6 separate regions of the Homo sapiens genome follow, and all the other regions are linked to region 1. The links are contacts of gene promoters, found by promoter capture Hi-C in blood cells and fetal thymus (Javierre and others, 2016). All regions are on one chromosome and are shown on one strand. Each heading gives the region's core, a stretch centred on a gene start or on the middle of the fragment in contact. The rest is flanking DNA. Distances are from core to core; before and after follow the strand shown.

The links. The method cuts DNA at HindIII sites, captures the fragments that hold promoters and counts their contacts. A CHiCAGO score of 5 or more calls a contact.
Region 2: a fragment that was not itself captured here is called in contact with the fragment with the promoter of BAIAP2L1 in region 1 in 2 of 17 cell types (M1 macrophages and M0 macrophages); the score reaches 5.7 in M1 macrophages.
Region 3: a contact is called between a fragment that was not itself captured here and the fragment with the promoter of BAIAP2L1 in region 1, in 4 of 17 cell types (M1 macrophages, M0 macrophages, naive B cells and 1 more). The highest score is 6.8, in M1 macrophages.
Region 4: a fragment that was not itself captured here is called in contact with the fragment with the promoter of BAIAP2L1 in region 1 in 4 of 17 cell types (M1 macrophages, M2 macrophages, M0 macrophages and 1 more); the score reaches 9.1 in M1 macrophages.
Region 5: a fragment that was not itself captured here is called in contact with the fragment with the promoter of BAIAP2L1 in region 1 in 1 of 17 cell types (M2 macrophages); the score reaches 5.0 in M2 macrophages.
Region 6: a contact is called between a fragment that was not itself captured here and the fragment with the promoter of BAIAP2L1 in region 1, in 1 of 17 cell types (non-activated CD4 T cells). The highest score is 5.3, in non-activated CD4 T cells.

The regions. Positions count from the first base shown.
Region 1 is chr7:98,399,187-98,402,693 of GRCh38, forward strand. It overlaps BAIAP2L1 (BAR/IMD domain containing adaptor protein 2 like 1), which reads right to left and starts at 1,904. Exons shown (of 14, transcript NM_018842.5): 1 at 1,616-1,904. The coding sequence starts at 1,666. RefSeq lists a silencer at 1,578-2,237. The HindIII fragment of the contact is 3,647 bases long and covers 1-2,726 here.
Region 2 is chr7:98,853,635-98,857,141 of GRCh38, forward strand. TMEM130 (transmembrane protein 130) reads right to left here. Exons shown (of 8, transcript NM_152913.3): 4 at 2,383-2,549; 5 at 1,606-1,690. Among named protein-coding and RNA genes, the nearest start is that of TMEM130, 15 kb to the right of the region's middle. RefSeq lists an enhancer at 1-165. The HindIII fragment of the contact is 3,239 bases long and covers 284-3,507 here.
Region 3 is chr7:98,801,777-98,805,283 of GRCh38, forward strand. No RefSeq gene overlaps it. Among named protein-coding and RNA genes, the nearest start is that of TMEM130, 66 kb to the right of the region's middle. RefSeq lists a silencer at 1,250-1,299. The HindIII fragment of the contact is 5,045 bases long and covers 1-3,507 here.
Region 4 is chr7:98,742,374-98,745,880 of GRCh38, forward strand. No RefSeq gene overlaps it. Among named protein-coding and RNA genes, the nearest start is that of TMEM130, 130 kb to the right of the region's middle. The HindIII fragment of the contact is 1,129 bases long and covers 1,007-2,135 here.
Region 5 is chr7:98,712,248-98,715,754 of GRCh38, forward strand. No RefSeq gene overlaps it. Among named protein-coding and RNA genes, the nearest start is that of NPTX2, 97 kb to the left of the region's middle. The HindIII fragment of the contact is 617 bases long and covers 1,295-1,911 here.
Region 6 is chr7:98,099,714-98,103,220 of GRCh38, forward strand. No RefSeq gene overlaps it. Among named protein-coding and RNA genes, the nearest start is that of LMTK2, 5.4 kb to the right of the region's middle. The HindIII fragment of the contact is 7,442 bases long and covers 1-3,507 here.

The DNA of each region.
Region 1 (3,507 bases), core at 654-3,153:
GCCCTCTATGAAGGCAACACACGAATAGAAGAGTTTTTGGTCACAGTGACTGAGCATCAAAAACGCTGTGTCAACTGTGTCTACTCTCCCTACCTGTAAGGCATAATTTATATGTGACAGTATACACTTTGTGTGTTAAGATAAACGGAACGGATCTCTTGGATTTCAATACATAACAAAAATGTTCATGTTCTTCTCTTACTTTCATTCAACAAAAGTTAATAGACTCCTCTGATTTTAGGAATTCAGACCTTGAAAACCCAGAAACTAAAATTTTAGGTTTAAAAAAGTCTATCAAAATGACTAAACTTCCTGATTCAAGCACCAGGGACAGAAAAAAGATAAAACACACCAACCAACCAACCGACCAACCATTTATTTATAACCTTAAACATGCCTATACATGAACTTAGAGAACGTTAAAGTTTCAAGGGTTCGAAGCGCCTAGGCTGAATTAAAACAAAAGTTGTTTTGTGTTCTATTAATAGCAGATGATTAACAGATATCTTATTTCACCTGGAATTCATTTGTAAGTATGTAAACTAAACAGGCCACTAATCCTAAGTCTCTGTCTGTGTCTGGAAAAATTCTCTCCTAATACATGCAAGTTAAGAGACCGGCTATCAACGCATTCCTTAAGGTTAGGTCAATTTCATTAAAACCTCGGTTGTTCTTTGACTTCAAGAACCTCACCAAATAACCCATATATAAAAGCCAAGTTCAACTGAAAGGTGGGAGAGGAAGGGTCTAAGGAGGAGGGCGTTTCCCGGGAGAACGCCCAGAGCTCGGCTCACCTGGCGATCCTAATTACAGGGGAGTTTCACCCCCACATTCTTGGGCGCTTTCTTTTCTTAGAGGAAACTCGAGCTTGTGTCTTTGGTCCCGGAGGGCTTAAGCCCGGCAGCCAGGACAGCACGGGTCACTGATTCCAAGAAGTTGGGAGGAGGACGTGGGCCCCACCGACGCACAACAGACCCCTCCCCAACTTAAGTGCACTAGTTGTAAAATGTGTAGCTGGTCAGGGGATGGGGGGTGGTCTCCAGAGCTCTGAGGGTCAGGGAAGAGGAGAAGGGACGGGGAGGAGAAGGGACAGGGGAGGCGGAGAAGGGCCAGGAGAGGAGGGGGAGACACACGGGGAAGGAGGAAGAACCAAGAGGAGGGGGAGGGGGAGGGGGAGGGAGGGGGATAGACTGGGGAGAAGAAGGGACAGGGGAGGAGGGGGAGACACACGGGGGAGAAGGAAGAACCAGGAGGAGGGGAGGGACAGTGTCGAGGGGCAGGGGAGGAGGGAGAGTGAACGGGGAGCGGAGGGGCAGAGGGAGAGGTACAGCGGGGCGGGAAAGAGAGACAGGGAAGAAGCACAGGGAGGAGGGGAGGGAAGGAGGAGGAAAAGTAGGGGGGAGGGGATGGGGAGGGACTGGGAGGAAGGAGAGGGCCAGGGGAGGAAGAAGAGGGGCTGTGGAGGGCCAGGGGAGGAGTGGGAGAGACCGGGAGAGGTGGAAGGACGCGGGGGAGGGGAGCTGGAGGGAGGGAAAGTACCTTCCCGCGTAAAGTCCCCTTCTGAACCCCGAGGTGGAAAGCCCTGACCTCCCTGAGCCCCGGGCCCTGGGCTTACCCGGTAGGTGCTCTCCGTGAGCCGGTTCACCTCCTCGGGCCCCCGGGACATGGCTGCGGCCGCCGGGCGAGCAAGCGCGGGAGGACGCGGCTGGGCCTCGTGGCCGCCGGACTCCGGGCAGCGGGAGGGCCGGGGCGCGACTAAGGGGCTCTGGAGGGTCGGCCGCCGCCGCAGCCGTCGGCCCGAGAGTGCCCGCGCGCGTCTCCGCTGCGAAAATGTCAAAACTTGCGGCAGCGCCGCCCTGGCCTTCTTCGAGGAGCAGAGGAGAAGCGGCCGGACGCCGCCAGAGGAAGCTGGGCGGGCCGGGCGGCCCCACCTGAGGCGGGCGGGGCAGACGGGGGCGGGGCCGCAGGGCCGGAGGGGCGTGGCGTACCCACCTGAGGCGGCCTGGTGAGCGGGGCCCGGCCGGGGTGGGCGGGGAGGAGGCGGGGCCAGGCAGCTGGAATGGGCGTGGCCAGAGGGAAGCGGGCCCCCCGAGTGGGCGGGGTCACCCCACCTGTGGCGGACAGGGCAGCGAGGCCACGGTGCGCCCCCTCGCGGCTCTCCCAGAGCTCCGGCGACGTAGGGCCCGAGACCCTGGAGTGGGGACCGGTGTGGAGTGGGCTGCTCGCTTTGCTGTTTTGCTAGGGCAAGGGCAGCCTGGGGGTGTTTAGACTGTGGTCCTGGAGCCCTTGTTTGCCTCGCGTGGTGCTGGCCCCGGGGACCCCGAGGCCCACTTCCTCCATGAGGGCTTCCTTCAAGCCCTGCGTTTTGGGGACCAAGGGAAGGGGCCACATTCCCCAGTTGTATTGATTTCCCTGATTGATCTCTTCTTGCCCCGCCGCTCACTGACCCCAAAAGTTAGAGGGACCCGTGGGGGCATCGGCCCTCCTAGGTGGAGAAAACGGGCTGCCACTTGCAGTTTTGAAAGCTCCTGATATATCAAAAAATTAATAAATGCCAGGGTCTAGTTACCGAAATGTTAGTACTTTTTTTTTTTTGAGATGGAGTCTCACTCTGTCGCCTAGGCTGGAGTGCAGTGGTGCGATCTCAGCTTGCTGCAACCTCCGCTTCCCAGGTTCAAGCGATTCTCCTGCCTGGCATGAGCCATCCTGCCTGGCCCCCAGATAGAAGCTTTTTGTTTGTTTTTGAGACAGAGTTTCACTCTTGTCCCCTCAGGCTGGAGTGCAGTGGTGCTCTCTCAGCTTGCTGCAATCTCTGCCCCCCAGGTTTAAGCAATTCTCCTGCCTCAGCCTCTCGAGTAGCTGAGATTACAGGTGCACGTGCCACCAAGCCAGGCTAATTTTTTTGTATTTTTAGTAGAGACGGGGTTTCACCATGTTGGCCAGGTTGGTCCCGAGCTCCTAACCTCAGGTGATCCGCCCTGCTCAGCCTCCCAAAGTGCTGGGATTACAGGCTTGAACCACCGCGCCCGGCCCAGTAGTACATTTTTAAACTTTACATTAACAACGACCTTTAACTCAATGCAGTGTAACCATGCTACTCACGAGATTGTTGTAGGGTTTAGAAAACCACCTGAGCTGAAGTGTTAGGGAAGCCTCTCTTCTTGTCATCACTCAAACTCTGTGGAGGTGTGTGGCTCCTGGGCTCCCTATTTTGTCTCCATCCCGGCCTCAGCCCTGCCCAAGGGTGAGGCAGCTGCCTTCTTTGGGCCTCTCTTCCAGGATTATGTACCTTGGGCTGGGTGACAGCCTTCTCCCCAGTAAGAACCACCATTTAGCTACCTGAGACCCGCACCCAACAAGGGCAGAGGTCTTATTCTGATTTTTTAAAACCTCTGGGCTTGGTGGCTCATGCCTGTAATCCTAGCACTTTGGGAGGCCAAGGCAGGCGGATCACTTGAGGTCAGGAGTTCGAGACCAGCCTAGCCAACATGGTGAAACCGCCCTGCC
Region 2 (3,507 bases), core at 653-3,152, 450 kb after region 1:
GAAAGAGTCCTTTAACGCCTGGGCCCTGACCACTGATGTCTGCGGCTCTATCCATCCCAGTGGCCCCAGGGAGGGGCATCCTCATGGACAGAATGCACTCGGCATCTGTGTCTCCTCACCTACTAAACACTCAGCCTGATGCTGTTCTTGCCAGGAGCCTGGGTCAGGCTGCCTTGATTAGACTGACTGATGAGAATCCCCTGGAATGATCTGCTTCCGTGTCATGCGGGGTGCCCCACCCTGCACACAGAATCCTTGGAAATCTTGTCTACTCTGGTCTAGAAGCTTCCAGAATAGCATCTTGTCCAAAGCAGATGCTCAAGCAACTTTTGCCTGCTGGTGCAAGCTCCCCTGTGCAGACTGGAGGGCAGAACAGATTTGCTTTTTTTGTTTTTTGGTTTTTTTTTGTTTTTTTTTTTTTTGGACAGAGTCTTGCTCTGTCGCCCAGGCTGGAGTGCAATGGCGGGATCTCGGCTCACTGCAACCTCCATCTCCCAGGTTCAAGCAATTCCCCTGCCTCAGCCTCCCGAGTAGCTCGAATTACAGGCATGAGTCACAGCACCCGGCCTCAGAAAAGGCTTTTGAAGGCAGGCATTCCAAGGGGCTTAGAAGAATAAGAAACATCTGGACATGTGAAGGGAGAGAAGAGAACCCTGAAAGAACCACATGGGCAAAGATCTGGGGGCTGGAAAATAGGCCACGTCATACACAGAGGGCTTCTCAACAGGAGGGATCCCTCCCAACCTTTGTCTCCATGCCCATGGTGAATACAGCCCCAAAAGGCAGGTCCTCCCTCCCTGGGACCTCAAGAATTGAGCTGAGGGCTAGGTGTGGTGGCTCATGCCTGTAATCCCAGCACTTGGGGAGGCCAAGCTGGGAGGATCACTTGAGCTCAGGAGACTGAGACTAGCTTGAGCAACATAGTGAGAACCCATCTCTACAAAAATTAAAAATTGGCCAGGCATGGTGGTGCCCACCTGTAGTTCCAGCCACCCAGGAGGCTGAGGCAGGAGAATCATTTAAGCCCAGGAGGTCAAGGCTACATTGAGCTGTGATGGTGCCACTGCACTCCAACCTGGGTGACAGGGTGAAACTCTGTCTCTAAAAAATGCAAATAAAGGCCAGACGCAGTGGCTCACACCTGTAATCTCAGCACTTTAGGAGGCCAAGGCGGATGGATCACTTGAGGTCAGGAGTTGGAGACCAGCCTGGGCAACATGGTGAAACCCCATCTCTACTAAAAATACAAAAATTAGCCGGGCATCGTGGAGTGCACCTGTAATCCCAGCTAGTCGGGAGGCTGAGTCAGGATAATCGCTTGAACCAGGGAGGCAGAGGTCGCAGTGAGCCAAGATTGCGCCACTGCACTCCAGCCTGGGCGAAAGAGCGAGACTCCGTCTCAAATAAATAAATAAATAATAAAATAAAATACTGGAGCTGAGCCCATGCTCTCCCCATGGCCCAGCCTCAAGACAAAGTGGCACTGCCCTTCCATGAGGTCCCAGACCTGAGGCCTGTCACAGAGCAGAACAGACTTGGGGTCATCGTGAAGGGGGATGTGCAGAGCCCACGGGGCACCCCCAGTGCGCTCTGGAGCTCACTTACCTCCCCAGGAAGTTCAAGGTCACGGTCATCTTTTGGAAGGTCTGAATTAGGGTGGGCCCCAACACTTGGATGCCTCGAAGGGTTTCTGTAAGGCAGAGAGAACCCCGTTAGACCTGGTGGCTAAGGATTGCTGTCGAGGCTCCCAGGGCACAGGGTGGTGCGACTGCCACCCTGTCCTCCCCTCCGTCCCTCTCCTAAGAGCAGGCCACAGGTCTGTGCGGGGTTCCTCTGGGTCCTGCCCTCCCCTGTCAGTGGCAGGTGCTGAAGCCTGCTCAGAGGGAGGAAAGTAGGAAAGGCAGGCAAACACACAATTGTCCTGCCCATTGCCAAGTCATCGTCTGTGTCACACAGGAGAGCACCATCCCGTCAGCAAGAACCAAGACATCTTCTGCAGCTGCCCAAGGGCTCCCTCTCACCAAAGCCAGGGAGAGATAGAGACCCTCCCACCCCAGGGTGAGCCTCGGTGGGAGGCCGATGGGGCCGGGGAACAGGGAATGGCATGGACTGGCCAATTCACAGCAGACACCTGGTCACCGGCTCAGGCTCTGGGAGCAGGCAGCCCGGGGCACAAGGGCCGCTCAGCCACTGCACAGCCACATGATCCCATCCGTGGCCTGCAGCGCTCTGTCTGAAGCAGGGTTAATGATAGACGCTCCTCAGAGGTCTGTGGGGCTCCAGAAGACAGGGCGTGAGTCCAGCCCAGAGCCACTGTGATCTGTGCGTACGGTGACCCCACTCTGGAACGCCCAGACTGCATCAGCCTGCCTGGACACCCACCCTGCAGCTTCAGCGAGGCGGAGAAGTCCCCGGTCTTCTGCTTCACAGCCCTCGTGGCATCCGGCTCCACCTCTTCCCACTCCGCCACCACTTTGAGCTTCACGGTGAAGGTCCCGATGATGGAATAGTTATAATAGACCACGGAGTCTTCAGTCACCATCTGGGTCCTGTTAGGAGACAGGGAGGAGAGAGGAGGAAGACAGCAGACGGTTGCTTCCCCTTCCTGTAACTCAGAAGTGATTCATGGGACTTGCCAGAGTCAGGGGAGGCTGTACAGTGATACTCCCAGCTACCAGTGAGCACACCTGTCATCACAGCCTAGAGCCAGCCAGGGCTCCAGGTCAGCTGGCCCATTTTCCAGATGAGCAAACCGAGGCCAGAGAAGGCCTAAAATTCAGGAAAATTACAAATTTCTCACATTAGCCAAAGTTCAAGGGCTCAACAGCCCCACGTGGTGAAGACAGAAGAATTTTTTGTCAAAAATTTTTTGTTTTTGTTGTTTTTGTTTTTTGAGACAGGGTCTCACTCTGTCACCCAGTGGCACAATCATGGCTCACTGCAGCCTTGAATTCCTGGGCTTGAGCAGTCCACCTGTGTCAGCCTCCCAAGTAGCAGGGATCACAGGCGTGTACCACTGTGCCAGGCTAATACATGATTTTTTGTAGAGACAAGGTCTTACTATGTTGCCCAGGCTGGTCTTGAACTCCTGCGCTCAAGTGATCCTCTGACCTCAGCCTCCTAAAGTGCTGGGATTATAGGCATGAGCCACTGTGCCAGCCAAGCCGAGGGTTCTGTTGGACAAAGCTGCCATCCAGATTTTTCAAGTAAATGGTCTTTCCTGCAAATTGTCTGCTTTCCAATATTTATACTGTACTTTTTATCTCTCTCTCCCTTTTTTTTTTATTTTTTATTTTCCTTTTTAGAGATAAGGTTCTGCTCTGTTGCCCTGGCTGGAGTGCTGTGGTGCAATCATAGCTCACTGCAGTCTCTGAACTCTTAGGCTCAAGCAGTCCTCCCACCTCAGCCTCCCGAGTAGCTGGGACTACAGGCACGTGCCACCATCCCTGGCTAATTTTTGTATTCTTTGTAGAGACGAGGTATCACTATGTTACCCACCCTAGTCTC
Region 3 (3,507 bases), core at 671-3,170, 400 kb after region 1:
GCTCCAGGCAGGGACAATGCTGGCCCCTGCAATGAGGGGAAACTATCCCCCAATACCAAGAATCTTCTCCTGGGAGAATCAGACAGCCCTGAAGCTCCATGGTCTAGCCCAGCCTTCTAGTATAGTAGAGGCCCACAGAAGGCACAGTCCTGCCCAATTTGCACAGCAAGACAACCATATGGCCTGGCCTGTTCCTAGGTCCTGGGTCCCCATCCAGGGCTCCTCCTGCATCCTAACATCCATGCTGAGCTTGTCCTTGTCCAGGCAAGTAGGATAGTCCAGGGTAGAACCTGGGCGGGCTCTAGAGAGAGGGGCAGGAGAGCCACCCCTACTCAGCATCCCTGTCCCCTCTGGCTGCAGGCACAGCTGGACGCAGTCTGACTGGCTGTCATGGTTGTCATCTGCCCTGGAAACAAGCCAAGGCTGTTGTTGCGAGTGCTATTACCATGGAAACCCTGAGTCAGGGCCGCGCTTAGCAGAGCCAAGCATGCCAGGGGCTCTCGGGGCCTCTCTTCTGCCAACGGGGAAGGTGATGTAAGGCAGGCAGCATCTCCCTGGGACTCATTAAGAGAGGGGAGTGTGTGGGTGGCAGGGAGGGAGTAGAATGGGGGTGGGGTGGGAGGAAAGGGGAGGAGGAAGTGAGAGTAATGACATGGCTCGGGGAACAGCTTAGGGCTGCCAAGCCCAGACCACAAGAGCCAAGGGATCTCCCCTGCTAAGCAGCCAAATTTGAGCCAAACCAAGTTTGGTCTTTGGAGTCAGTTCCTGAACCCAAAAGACCAAACTTCCCAGGAGACCAGAGCCCCAAGCTGGGCCCCACAGATGTTACCTTTTGGTGATAGTGGGAGATCATGGAGCCTCTGGATCTGGGCTGCAGCCTGGGAGGCCACCCAGCACAGCTTTATTCATCCCAGCACTCAAGGGAGATTTGGGGACTTGGTCAGGGTCACACAGTGGGTCCATATGGAGGCCAGGAAGGCAAGAGGTGGAGACCCTTTCCTAGTCAATGAGCTTCCTCCCAGCTCACTGTCATCCATTGGCTGGGCAGGCAAGGTTGGATAAGAGCCCCTGATGTGGCCTGAGCCCAGCAGAGAACAATCCCACCCCCAGGTCTTCTTGCAGATTGAGTGAGTTGCTGGTTTCACAGCATGTGGACAGTCAGGTTCCCAGGCTAGCTCATGCAAACAGTCAGGTTCCCAGGCTAGCCCATGCAAACTTCGTTACCACATCCTGTGGGGTTCCCTTCTGCACAGAGTCTGACTTTCCTTGAAAATTGAGAGGCTCAGCCAGGTGCAGTGGTTCATGCCTGTAATTCCAGCACTTTGGGAGGCCGAGGCGGGCGGATCACTTGAGGTCAGGAGTTCGAGACCAGCCTGGCCAAAATGGTGAAAACTGTCTCAAAAAAAAAAATACAAAAAATTTGGTTGGGTATGGTGGTGCATGCCTGTAATCCCAGCTACTTGGGAGGGTGAGACATGAGAATCGCTTGAACCCGGGAGGTGGAGGTTGCAGTGAGCTGAGATCATGCCACTGCACTCCAGCCTGGGCAACAAAGTGAGACTCCATCTCAAAAAAAAGAAAAACGAAAAAAAGAGTAAGAAAAGAGAAGGAAGGAAAGAAAGAAAGAAAGAAAGAAAGAAAGAAAGAAAGAAAGAAAGAAAGAAAGAAAGAAAGAAAGAAAAGAAAGAAAGGAAGGAAGGAAGGAAGGAAGGAAGAAAGAAAATAAATTGAGAGGCTATACCCCAGGGAGACCCATCCTTCTTGCCTACATTGCCAAACTGTAGCTGCTGTCTGCAGACATGCAAGCCAGGAACCAGAGATGAGGGACTGTCAGTGCATGTCACCCTGACGTCTTCACTGATCACACTCAAGCTGGGCCATATTCTGGGCTCCGGTCTCCATTACCTGCTGCACATACCTCATTCAGCCCTCAAACAGTCCTCGGAGGCAGATATCATGTCCTAAGCGGTCCCATTTTGTACAATAGAAAACAGCCTTTGGGAGACAAGGTGCCTTGCAAAGGCCACACAGAAGGGAAAACTGGGCTCTGAACTGAGGATATTTTGAGATTGCCGAACAGCCTCATTGGCCACTCTTCCACTGAGCACAGGACAGGTGGTGGAGTCATCTTGGGGAAGCCCTGATGCCTGCCCTCACAGATCCGGCATGGGGGCAGCTGCTGGAGACGATGCTGCCTCAGTGATCCCAGGCCAACCCCTTCTCTCCGCCACGCAATTCCTGAGGTCTGGAGTTGGGGAAGGAGCGAGGGCCATGAAAACTGGGGACAGGGGCAGCTGTGTCCTCACTTTAAGATAGAGCCATGCAGCTGGTCCTTCATGCTGGCTTGCTAGCAAGCAACAAAAAGTTGGATGAAACATTCATATTGCCGAGATATGACAATGTCTCTGAACATGACATGCTGCTCCCCTGGTAGCATAGTTAACACTGGTCTTCCAACATCCCAAGCAAGAAGAACAAAGCGCCACTCACTGGGAGATGGTTGGAAGGAGAGTGGATTCTAACCTGCTCACCCTCGTGGCTGGGGGTTGTGGTCTTTGATGGAGGAATTAATAAACCCAGAGCCACATCTGTCAAGAACTCAGTGGCTTCAGTAGCTCTTCCCTGGAGCTGTGGAGGCCACCCCTGGGCCTGGGGGACCCATTCATTCCAATGCTGGGGTCCTGGAATCAGAATCTTCTTGGGAGGCGCAAGCCCCCCTCCTCCCCTCTGCCACAGACCCATCCCACAGGTCTGGGCCCCAGCACCAGCTGGTCTTCAAAGTCACATGAGTCTGAGCCACATGGAATTACAAATGAGCTAAAAAGATGAGCTGATTTCGGCCGGGCACGGTGGCTCACGCCTGTAATCCCAGCACTTTGGGAGGCTGAGGCGGGCGGATCACGAGGTCAGGAGATTGAGACCATGCTGGCTAACACGGTGAAACCCCGTCTCTACTAAAAATACAAAAAATTAGCTGGGCATGGTGGCGGGCGCCTGTAGTCCCAGCTAGTCAGGAGGCTGAGGCAGGAGAATTGCTTGAACCTGAGAGGCAGAGCTTGCAGTGAGCCTAGATAGCGCCACTGCACTCCAGCCTGGGCGACAGAACAAGACTCCACCTCAAAAAAAAAACAAAAAAGATGAGCTGATTTCATTAATGCCGTCTTCCATTTCGTCCAGTATTTCTGTGAATTTGTGGACATTTTTAAACTAATCTCTCCACTGCTCATGAAATTAAATACTAAGGAATAAGACTGAGTTCGATAGTGTTAAACTTTGCATGACCACAAATCATTGTAATAGCTAAGACTTTGTTGGTGGTGGTGGTGGTTTGTGTTTTTTATTTGTTTTTATTTTTTGTTTTGTTTTGTTTTTGAAACAGTCTTATTCTGTCGCCCAGGCTGGAGTGCAGTGGCGCAATCTTGGCTCACTGCAACCTCTGCCTCTCAGGTTCAAGCAATTTTCCTGCCTTAGCCTCCCAAGTAGCTGGGATCACAGATGTGTACTACC
Region 4 (3,507 bases), core at 321-2,820, 340 kb after region 1:
GGGCCTTGAGGCCAGGCTGAAGACATGGGATTTTATCCCAAGAGCAGTAGGGAGTCTTTGAAGGGCTTGAGTAGAGGAGTGACAAGAACAGGTTGGCATTTCAGAAGCGTGGCTGGCAGGCAGTCATCCTGCTACCACTGGGCAGTGGCTAAAGTGCAGTTTCTCAGATCCAAAGGTCAGGCTCAGATTCTGCTTTGGCAGCTCCCTGGAGGTGCACCTTGAACAAGTTCCTTCCTTCCTCCAATTCCCTAAAATGCAGATGAGTATGCCTCCTGCCACGTGTAGTGGGGTGAGCATTAAGCCTGATAATGCGTGAAATATTGTGGCACCGTGCCTACCACGTGATGAACTCCCAATAACTCCCCCTTCAGCTCCTGGTACAGTCCCTAACATACCCTGATGCTTAGAATATATGAATGAACGAATGAATGAATGAAGTTCTAGGTATATTTTATAAACATAGGACCTAGGAAGGTCAGGTCAAAACTATGGCCCAGGTGCCAAGAGACAAAGACACAGTGGCATATTAGTGTACATTAACCATTAATGACCAAAATAATGACCCCAAGCCCTCCAAGAGACTGTCTTGGCTTCATTAAAGCTCTCTCATCAGAGACACAATAAATTGATGGCCCAAGCTGATGTTCTTTTTGGGTTTTACCATATTTTATCATATTTCAATTATTTTTTTTAGACAAGGTCTCACTCTGTTAGTGCCGTGACATGCTCACAGATCACTGTGGCCTCAACCTCCTGGTCTCAAGCGATCCTCTCACCTCATCCTCCAGAGTAGCTGGGACTACAGGTGTGTACCACCACACCTGGCTAATTTTCTTTTTTTACTTTTTGTAGAGACGGGATCTCACTATGTTGCCCAGGCTAGTTTTGAACTCCTGGGCTCAAGCAATCCTCCCACCTCAGCTTCCCAAAGTGCTGAGATTACAAGCATGAGCCTATCGTGCCCAGCCTCAATGATTTTTTAATTCTTATATTAGTCATTAAGAGAAGCTTTGTGCATTAACAAATAACTCCAACATCTCAGTGACTTAATACAACAATGATTTCTTTCTCGCTCATCGTGTATATCCAGCATGTGCAGACAGGGCCAGGAGGAAAGGCTGGATATGCTTTCCTCCACACAGTCACTCAGGGATCCAGGCTTATGGAAGCCTTCTCAATCATCAAGACAAGGGAAGAAGAGAGACTGGAGAATTGAGACATCTGTTCAGTGCCTTGGCACAAAAGGGACATATGCCACTTCTTTTGTCTGTTTTTTGCTGTTTTTAATGACACTTCTTATACTATATATCATTGGCCAGATCTAGTTGCACAGACTGGCCTACTGTCAAGGATGTGGCATCCTTGTGCTAGGAAGGAGAGGAGAATGGGATACTGGTGAACACTAGTGATGTCCACTCCAGTTCTTAATCACCATTTTGGTTTATTTTTCCAGCTAGAACAACAACAACAAAAAAAAAAAGCTAGAATTTTTTTTTTTCTTGAGATAGTCTTGTTCTGTCGCCCAGGATGGACTGCAGCAGCGTGATCTCGGCTCACCGCAAGCTCCACCTCCCAGGTTCACACCATTCTCCTGCCTCAGCCTCCCAAGTAGCTGGGACTACAGGCGCCCACCACCATGCCTGGCTAATTTTTTGTATTTTTAGTAGAGACGGGGTTTCACCGTATTAGCCAGGATGGTCTTCATCTCCTGACCTCGTGATCCACCTGCCTTGGCCTCCCAGCGTGTTGGGATTACAGGCGTGAGCCACCGCGCCCTGCCCAAAAGCTAGAATATTTAATCTGCACTTCATTCAAAATATCTGCTGCAGCTATGGGTCAAAGTTGTGGTGATCAAGCCTGAACCTTTCTGCTTCCTCCTGTTCAGCAGGAGAGTGAGTTTTGCCTGAATGACCACCCTATTTCTGTAGCTTACAGCCGTGCAGGCAGAGAGCATTACAGATCTCTTGTGGACTTTGCTCTACGCTTCATGCTTGGATTTTATGTCCACATTCATATTGATGATAAAGTTGTTATTTCTTTATTTAACCAATTCTATGTCTATGCATACATGTTTGAATAGGGATTGGGAGGCTAAGTTCATCTGACAACAGCATCTTTGCTTGATATTACAGTGAAGCTTATAACATCAGTTGTGCTGATTTAACAAAATGTATAATGTATTCAGCAGTTGATGACTTCAGCCTAATTGAACACAAATTTATTATGCTATCCAGGGTTGTAATTAAAACACGGTAAAATTAGCCCATCAAATACCGTATACACATGCTCTCTCGCAAAGCCATCAATGGCCTTTGTTTCGCCTATGGTCAATTACATTTTCAAAGTGGAATCCTCCCAAGAATTAGGCAGATGAATCAGGATGAAAGGAAACCCAACCGAGGGTTTAAGGCTGCTCTGCCCTGACAAGGAAACACTCTGAAGATTGTCTTCAAACAATGAGAAAGCTAATTTTCCTACGTGGTGATTTTGGGGTATCATTAGTCTTCTATATCACTTATTTTTTTTCTCTTGGGAAGGAGTCTTGCTCTGTTGCCCAGGCTGGAGTGCAGTGGCCCAATCTTGGCTCACTGCAACCGCTGCCTCCCGGGTTCAAGTGATTGTCCTACCTCAGCCTCCTGAGTAGCTGGGAATACAGGTGCCCGCCACCGCGCCCAACTAATTTTTGTATTTTTAGTAGAGACGGGGTTTCACCATGTTGGCCAGGATGGTCTTGAACTCCTGATCTCGTGATCTGCCTGCCTCAGCCTCCCAAGGTACTGGGATGACAGGTGTGAGCCACCATGCCCTGCCTAATTTTGTATTTTTAGTGGAAGCAGGGTTTTGCCATGTTGGCCAGGCTGGTCTCGAACTCCTGATGTCAGGTGATCCGCCATCCTCGGCCTCCCAAAGTGCCGGGATGACAGGTGTGAGCCACCACGCCTGGCCTTCCATGTTATTTTAATGATCGCAGAACTGTGGAAAACTGGAGGTGGCTCAGATGTAATAAAAGGGAATTGTCCGTGTGTCCTTGTCAGGAGTCCAAGCCATGCAGGAAAGAGAAACAGGACCTCCCTCCCTCCCCGAAACCAGTTCCTTAATAATGACCCTGAAAAGGCGGATCAGCTGCAGGGAGAGTCATCCTGTGGGCTTCATGAATTCTAATCGCTGTTGGCGATACAGTGACACATTCTACCATTTAGACCATTCAGGTCTAAAACTACATTTTGGGTCTAGAAACACTCCTTTCATAAATATTTTAAAACGAAGAATTAAAGAAGTTCAGGAGAACAATGGCGGAGGTGGAGAAGCTCTGTTCTCACCGGCGGGGTTTCACAGTGCATTTTTGTCAGCCTTCTGCCATGGAAGAGTGGAGAGGCTCCTAGCTCCAGCTCAGAAAAAGGAGAGGAAAGGAATATGAGCTAATAATGAGGTGTCTGGCTTGTTCCCTCTTGTTTGGGAAAAGAACACTCACTTATTCCAAGAGGAGGCTTTCTCACCTGAGCCAGG
Region 5 (3,507 bases), core at 353-2,852, 310 kb after region 1:
TGGCTTCTTCTGTCTTTCCTGTTATCAGTTACACGATTAGAGGAAAATTAATCCGTGGATCTTGTTCAAGTTGCACGCCTGGAAGAAGCTACGCCTGATGGGTAAAAACAAAAAGACACAAAAAAGGTGCTGTTGTGTTAGTCAGCACTGGATCCCACCAGCAGAACCACTTGGGGCTATATATACAACATGAGGTTGACCATCGGTGATGTGGGCTGAATTCTGTTCCCCTAAAATTCATATGTTGAAGTCGTAACCCTCAGCACTCTTAGAAAGTGCCCGTATTTGAATACAGGGTTTTAAAGAGGTGATTAAGTTTGAAAGAATTCATTAACTGGGGTCCTTATAAGAAGAAAAGTTGGGCGAGGTGCGGTGGCTCACGCCTGTAATCCCAGCGCTTTGGGAGGCTGAGGCAGGCAGATAACGAGGTCAGGAGTTCCAGACCAGCCCGGCCAATATGGTGAAACCCCGTCTCCACTAAAAATATAAAAATTAGTTGGGCTTGGTGGCACACACTTGTATTCCCAGCTACTCGGGAGGCTGAGAGCAGAAGAATCACTTGAACCTGGGAGGCGGAGGTTGCAGTGAGCCGAGATCATGCCACTGCACTCCAGCCTGGGCGACAGAGCGAGACTCCATCTCAAAAAAAAAAAAAAAAAAAAAAGAAGAAGAAGAAGAAGAAAAGTTGACTGTGTTTCAAAATAAAAAGTATATATGCAATTTGCCGCTTACCACGTTTGAGAATTCAACACAATACAGGAAGTTTTAGAAATATACTGCCATTAGAGCATCACACCTTTTCTGGAACAAGCTTAGCACAGAGAACATCAACCAGACAATCTTACATCAACTGTAACCAAGTAGGAATTTTGCATCTAGCTGAAATGTCATAACAGTTACAAAAAAGAATCACAAGCCTTAGTCGATTTGAGCTTCTTTTTCAAACGTCTTAAAAAAGTCAAACCAAACAATATTTTAAGCAGGAAAAGACTAATTTTCACAGAGTTGAGTGATCATCCGTCTTAGTGGCTCAGAGCACCCATTAGCCATCCCATAATAAACTGGAGTAGAAGTTTATTGCTTACATTAAGCATTGCAAATTAAAGGAAAGGGATAATTTCCTTTTAGCAAAATACTCTAGATACCACATCAAAATTACAGAAATAATTGTGTCAGAAATACAGTTTAATAGCAAATGGTGTTCTGCTGTGAAACGAAATGCTTTTTAGTAGGTTATATCTTGTAGAATCCACCTGACCCTTGGACATCAAAAGGAAGAATTTCCCATAAGAAAAGCTTTAGGGCAATTTCACTTAGTGGCTAGAGATTTATTTTCCATGTCACCAGATTATTAATAGCTGGGATTTCTGTTTCAAATCAAGGCAGGAAATTAGTCATATCATGTACAAAGAAAGATTTCATGCGGTCCCACCTATTTCAAAAAGGAAAATGTGGTTAAGTACTGTATTTAAATTAAATGATCAGTGTTATAGCAATTACTGAGGCACGATTTTGTCAGATGGCAAAGAGAATGCATTAAAGATATGAACAGCTGTTTCTCAGTTTAAATTTATAGTATTTCAAAATTCAGGAAATGACTTTTGTGTTCTACTTAGAATCGAATTACAAAAATAACAGAACCAGCCCATAATACAGCATTTCGAATTACAGAGACGTTTGGACCCTTTCACCAAAGTATACCGTTTTGGCAAAATGATCCAGTTCTAATAAAATCAGAACTGTAACGCAATAAAATCAGGTTTCATGTTAGAGTTACATATTACGTTAGTGATCATTTTCACTACAAAGATATCATTTGAATACCAAATCCAAGCACAGTTTTGTGTGGCAGTTTAAGGAAGAACCAGTCAACTGGCTTTTAAACTAGAGCATCACGGCTTTTCTGGAACAAGCTTAGCATACATAGAATATACACCATTCAAGCTTAGCGTGTAATAAACTAACATGGCTTTTAAAATCATACAATCCCCACTCCTTTTTCTTGTTAGAAAGTTATTCATGCAAATTACTGAATTTCACACAGCAGGGTAATTATAGTATAAAAAGTGAGTTGCTTTACTCTGAGGCTGATTCAAAACTAGGATCAACCATTCGAGGTATAACAGCCTTTCCGAATTCTCCCTTGAGGGTGTTTAACACATTAATAATTAGTTAGGTCAGGCTGACGTTTCAAGTATTACATCTGGCCGGGTGTGGTGGCTCATGCCTGTAATCCCAGTGATTTGGGAGGCTGAGGTGGGAGGATCGTTTCAGCCCAGGAGTTCAAGACCAGCCTGGGCAACATAGCAAGACCCCATCTCCATAAAAAAATTAAAAAATTAGCTGGGCATGGTGGTGTGTGCCCGTGATCCCAGCTACCCTGGAGGCTGGGGTGGGAGGATTGATTGAACCTCGGTTTTCGAGGCTGCAGTGAGCTATGATCACCTGGGTGATCCAGCCTGGGTGACAGAGCAAGACCCTGTCTCAAAAAAAAAAAAAAGTGAATACTTCTTGTGAAGAATGGAAACCCAGTATCAAGGGGTTTTTCCACTAAATGCATCCTGGCCAGTGCCTTTGGTTGGTGCCTTTTTCAAGATCCTCATGAAAAACCTGCCTTCTTTTTTTTTTCTTTTGAGATGAAATCTCACTCTGTCACCCAGGCTGGAGTGCTGTGGCACGATCTTGGCTCACTGCAAACTCTACCTCCCGGGTTCAAGCAATTCTCCTGCCTCAGCCTCTAGAGTAGGTGGGACTACAGGTGTTCGCCACCACACTCGTCTAATTTTGTATTTTTAGTAGAGATGGGGTTTCACCATATTGGCCAGGCTGTTCTCGAACTCCTGACCTCTAGTGATCACCTGCCTCAGCCTCCCAAACTGCTGGGATCACAGGTGTAAGCCACCATGCCTGGCCAAAAGCCTGCCTTGTTTTAGAGAGGAAAATCTGAGTATCGATAAAGAATAACAATTGCAATGGCTTGAAACAACTCATGATTTTGAAAACTGGTTTGTAAAGAAAAAAAAAAAGGGACAGACTGTGAGATGGAACATTCATCCTGCCTTTTTTGAATAAATGTTGGGAGCATTCTCTCTTTGCAGAATTCTTTCAGCTCATAAACACAGGAGAAATCACAGATTTAGGGTGTCATCATATTGCAAATTCAGCAGTGATATGATCTAAGAAAGGGACCATCAGACATAATATGTCCCCAAGGGAGGACACACCATCATCCATGAAGTGGTCTTGCCGAAAACCCCGCCTGAACCTGACAGGTCTTCAGACTTTCCCGATTAGATTAAATGCAGAGAAATGCAAATCAAAACCACAATGAGATACCATCTCACACCAGTTAGAATGGCGATCATTAAAAAATCTGGAAACAACAGGTGCTGGAGAGGATGTGGAGAAATAGGAACACTTTTACACTGTTGGTGGGACTGTAAACTAGTTCAACCATTGTGGAAGTCGGTGTGGCAATTCCTCAGGGATCTAGAACTAGAAATACCA
Region 6 (3,507 bases), core at 325-2,824, 300 kb before region 1:
GGTCTTGAACTCTCAGGCTCAAGCAATCCTCCTGCCTCAGCCTCCCAAGTAGCTGGAATTACAGGCATGTGCTACTGTGCCCAACTTGTAAGAGTTCTTTTTGTATTCTAGATGCAAGTAACTTATCATATATATGGATTTCACATATTTTCTTTCATTTTGTGGGTTATCTTTTTACTTTCTTGGTTGTGCTTTTTGAATCACAAAAGTTTTAAATTTTGAAGCCAAATTTATCTATTTTTTCTTTGTTTGCTTGTGCTTATAGTATCCTATCTCTGAAACAAACCTAATCCAAAGTAATAAGGATCTATGCCTACATTTTCTTGTAAGATTTTCATAGTTTTAGCTTTTGCATTAGGTTCTTGATCTATTTTTAGTTAATTTTTGTACATGACATTAGGTAGGGGCCGATCATCATCATTCTTTAGCATGTGGATATCCACTGTCTCACAGCATTTGTTAAGAAACTATTCTTTTCCATTGAATTGTCCTATACCCTGGTTGAAAATCAATTGACTGTCAATCTTAAGATTTATTTGTAGACCCCTAATTATATTGTTTGATGTATAATGTCAGTGCCACACTGTTTTGATTACTATAGTTTTGGAATATATTTTGAAGTCAGAAAATGTGAATCTTCCAACTTTGTCTCCTGAACCCTGCCCAAGATTGTTTTGACTATTCTGGGGCCCTTAAATTTCCATATGAATCTTAGGATCAGCTTCTCAATTTCTGAAAAGAATCCAGAGGGAATGGATGGGAATCACATTAGATCTATAGATCAATTTGGAGAGTATTGCCTTAACAATATTGTCTTTTGATCCAGGAACATGGGATGTCTTTCCATTTATTGAGGTCTTCTTTATTGTTTTTCAATCAACCGTTAATTCTTTAGACATATTTATAATAATTATTATTATTTAATTGTAATAATTATAATTTAAAGTCTTTGTCTATTAAGTCCAACTTCTCAGCATCTGATATGGCTTGGCTCTGTGTCCCCACTCAAATCTCATCTTGAATTGTACTTCCCATGCATTGTGGGAGGGACCTGGTGGGGGATAATTGAATCATGGGGGTGGTTTCCCCCATACTGTTCTTGTGGTAGTGAATAAGTCTCACAAGATCTGATGGTTTTATCAGGGGGTTCCACTTTTGTGTCTTCCTCATTCCCTCTTTGCCTGCCGCCATCCATGTAAGACAGCACTTGCTCCTCCTTGCCTTCTGCCATGATTGTGAGACTTCCCCAGCCATGTGGAACTGTAAGTCCAATTAAATATCTTTTTTTTTTTTTTTTTTTGAGACAGATTCTTGCTCTGTCTCCCAGGCTGGAGTGCAGTGGTGCCACCTTGGCTCACTGCAAGCTCTGCCTGCCGGGTTCACACCATTCTCTCACCTCAGCCTCCCAAGTAGCTGGGACTACAGGCGCCTGCCACCATGCCCGGCTAATTTTGTTTTTGTATTTTTAGTAGAGACGGGGTTTCACTGTGTTAGCCAGGATAGTCTCCTTGATCTCCTGACCTCGTGATCCGCCTGCCTCGGCCTCCCAAAGGCCTGGGGTTACAGGCATGACCGCTCCACCCGGCCATTAAATCTCTTTCTTTTGTAAATTGCCCAGTCTTGGTGAGTATGTCTTTATGAGCAGCATGAAAATGGACTAATACAGAATCCTCAGGGAAAGTTTTTGTTGTCTAATTTTTCATCCTGTGTATGAAGCATATTTTCTTGTTTCTTTTTCTGTCTTGTAACAATTTTTCGAAAACTGGACATTTAAAATTGCATAATGTGGAAACTCTGGAATAGGTTTTCCCTGATATTCCCCTTCCACAGGGTTTGCATTGTTGGTGCTGTTTGTTATTGCTGTTGCTGCCATCATTCATTTTTAAAGGGCCTTTCCTGGTCTAATTCTGTATTTTGAAAAATTTGTGAATGGCCACCAAAGTCTCTGTTTAGTTAGCTTAGTGGTCAGCTAATGACTACAGAGATATCCTTAAATTCTTTTTTTTTTTTTTTTTTTTTTTTTTTGATATAGAGTTTTGCTCTTGTCATCCAGGCTGGAGTGCAGTGGTGTGATCTCGGCTCACTGCCACCTCTGCCTCCTGGGTCCAAGTGATTCTCCTGCCTCAGCCTCCCGAGTAGCTGGGATTACAGGCGCGTGCCACCATGCCCAGCTAATTTTTGTATTTTTAGTAGAGACAGGGTTTCACTATATTGGCCAGGCTGGTCTCAAACTCCTGACCTCAGGCGATCTGCCCAACTTGGCCTACCAAAGTGCTGGGATTACAGGCGTGTGCCACTGTGCCTGGCCTCCTTAAATTATTTGAGCCAATATGTCTCCCTGGTTTTGCTAAGAGTCTCTGTATGTGTGTTGGAGCATGCATCTGATGCTCTGGCAGTTTAAAATTCTGCCCCAGTCCTTACTGTGCTTGCACAGCCTCATGATCAACTAGGAATGAGAAACGAGGGCCTTCTCATGTATTTCCTAGCCATGTTCATAGCCTTGTACATGCACATGGCTTTCTAGATTTCCAATAATATGGTGGATCTTTTCAAAGCTCCCAATGACATATTATTCCCTAGATTTTTCTTTTAAGTTTCTCATCAGCCAACTGGTATCACTGGCTCAGGCAATTGCAATGTTAAACAGTTGTCACTGATTATTTTCAACAAACAGGATAGGACTATTTTCACTGAGGCATTTCTGAGTCATATCAAATGAAGAAAAGCCCTGAAAATAGTGCCTTTCTAAGGAGCTGCCAGACAGGTCAGATAGTCACAGTTCTTTGGGGATACAGGTTTTGGGGGAGCTCCAAACCTATTCTGCCCCCTCTGGTAGCTGCTAGCCTGCTTATTTCCACAGTTCCCATGGTGGTGAAGTTGCTGGTTTTCAAGGCTATCACAGAGGTGGGGAGAGAAGAATGGAAATAGGGCAAGTAAAAATTTCATGAAGCTCATTATTCTTATGAGATTTGGCCATTTTCCTTTTCTTTATTTTAAGAGACAGGGTTTCACTATGTAGCACAGGCTGGAGTGCAGTGGTGGAATCACAGTTCACTGCAGCCTCAAATTTCTGGGCTGAAGCAATCCTCCCATCTCAGCCTGCCAAAGTGCTGGGACTACAGGCATGTGCCACTGTGCCTGGCTAATTATTTATTTTTAGTAGAGATTGGGGTCTCACTATGTTACCCAGGCTGCTCTCAAACTCCCAGGCTCAGGTGATCCTCCTACCTCAGCCTCCCAAAGTGTTCGTATTACGGGCGTGAGCCACCACACCTGGCCTCAGCCATTTTTCTTTAACAAATTGACTCATGATATTGCAAACCTCTGGCAAATTCCTAGAGTTCTGAAGAAGTTTATGTGGACAATTTTGCTAGTGCTCTTCTTGCCTTCCATTCTTCAAGTATCAGTCCATTCTTGCATTGCTATAAGGAATACCTAAGATTGGGTAATGTATAAAGAAAAGAGGTTTAATTGGCATATGGTTCTGCAAGTTGTACAGGAAGCATG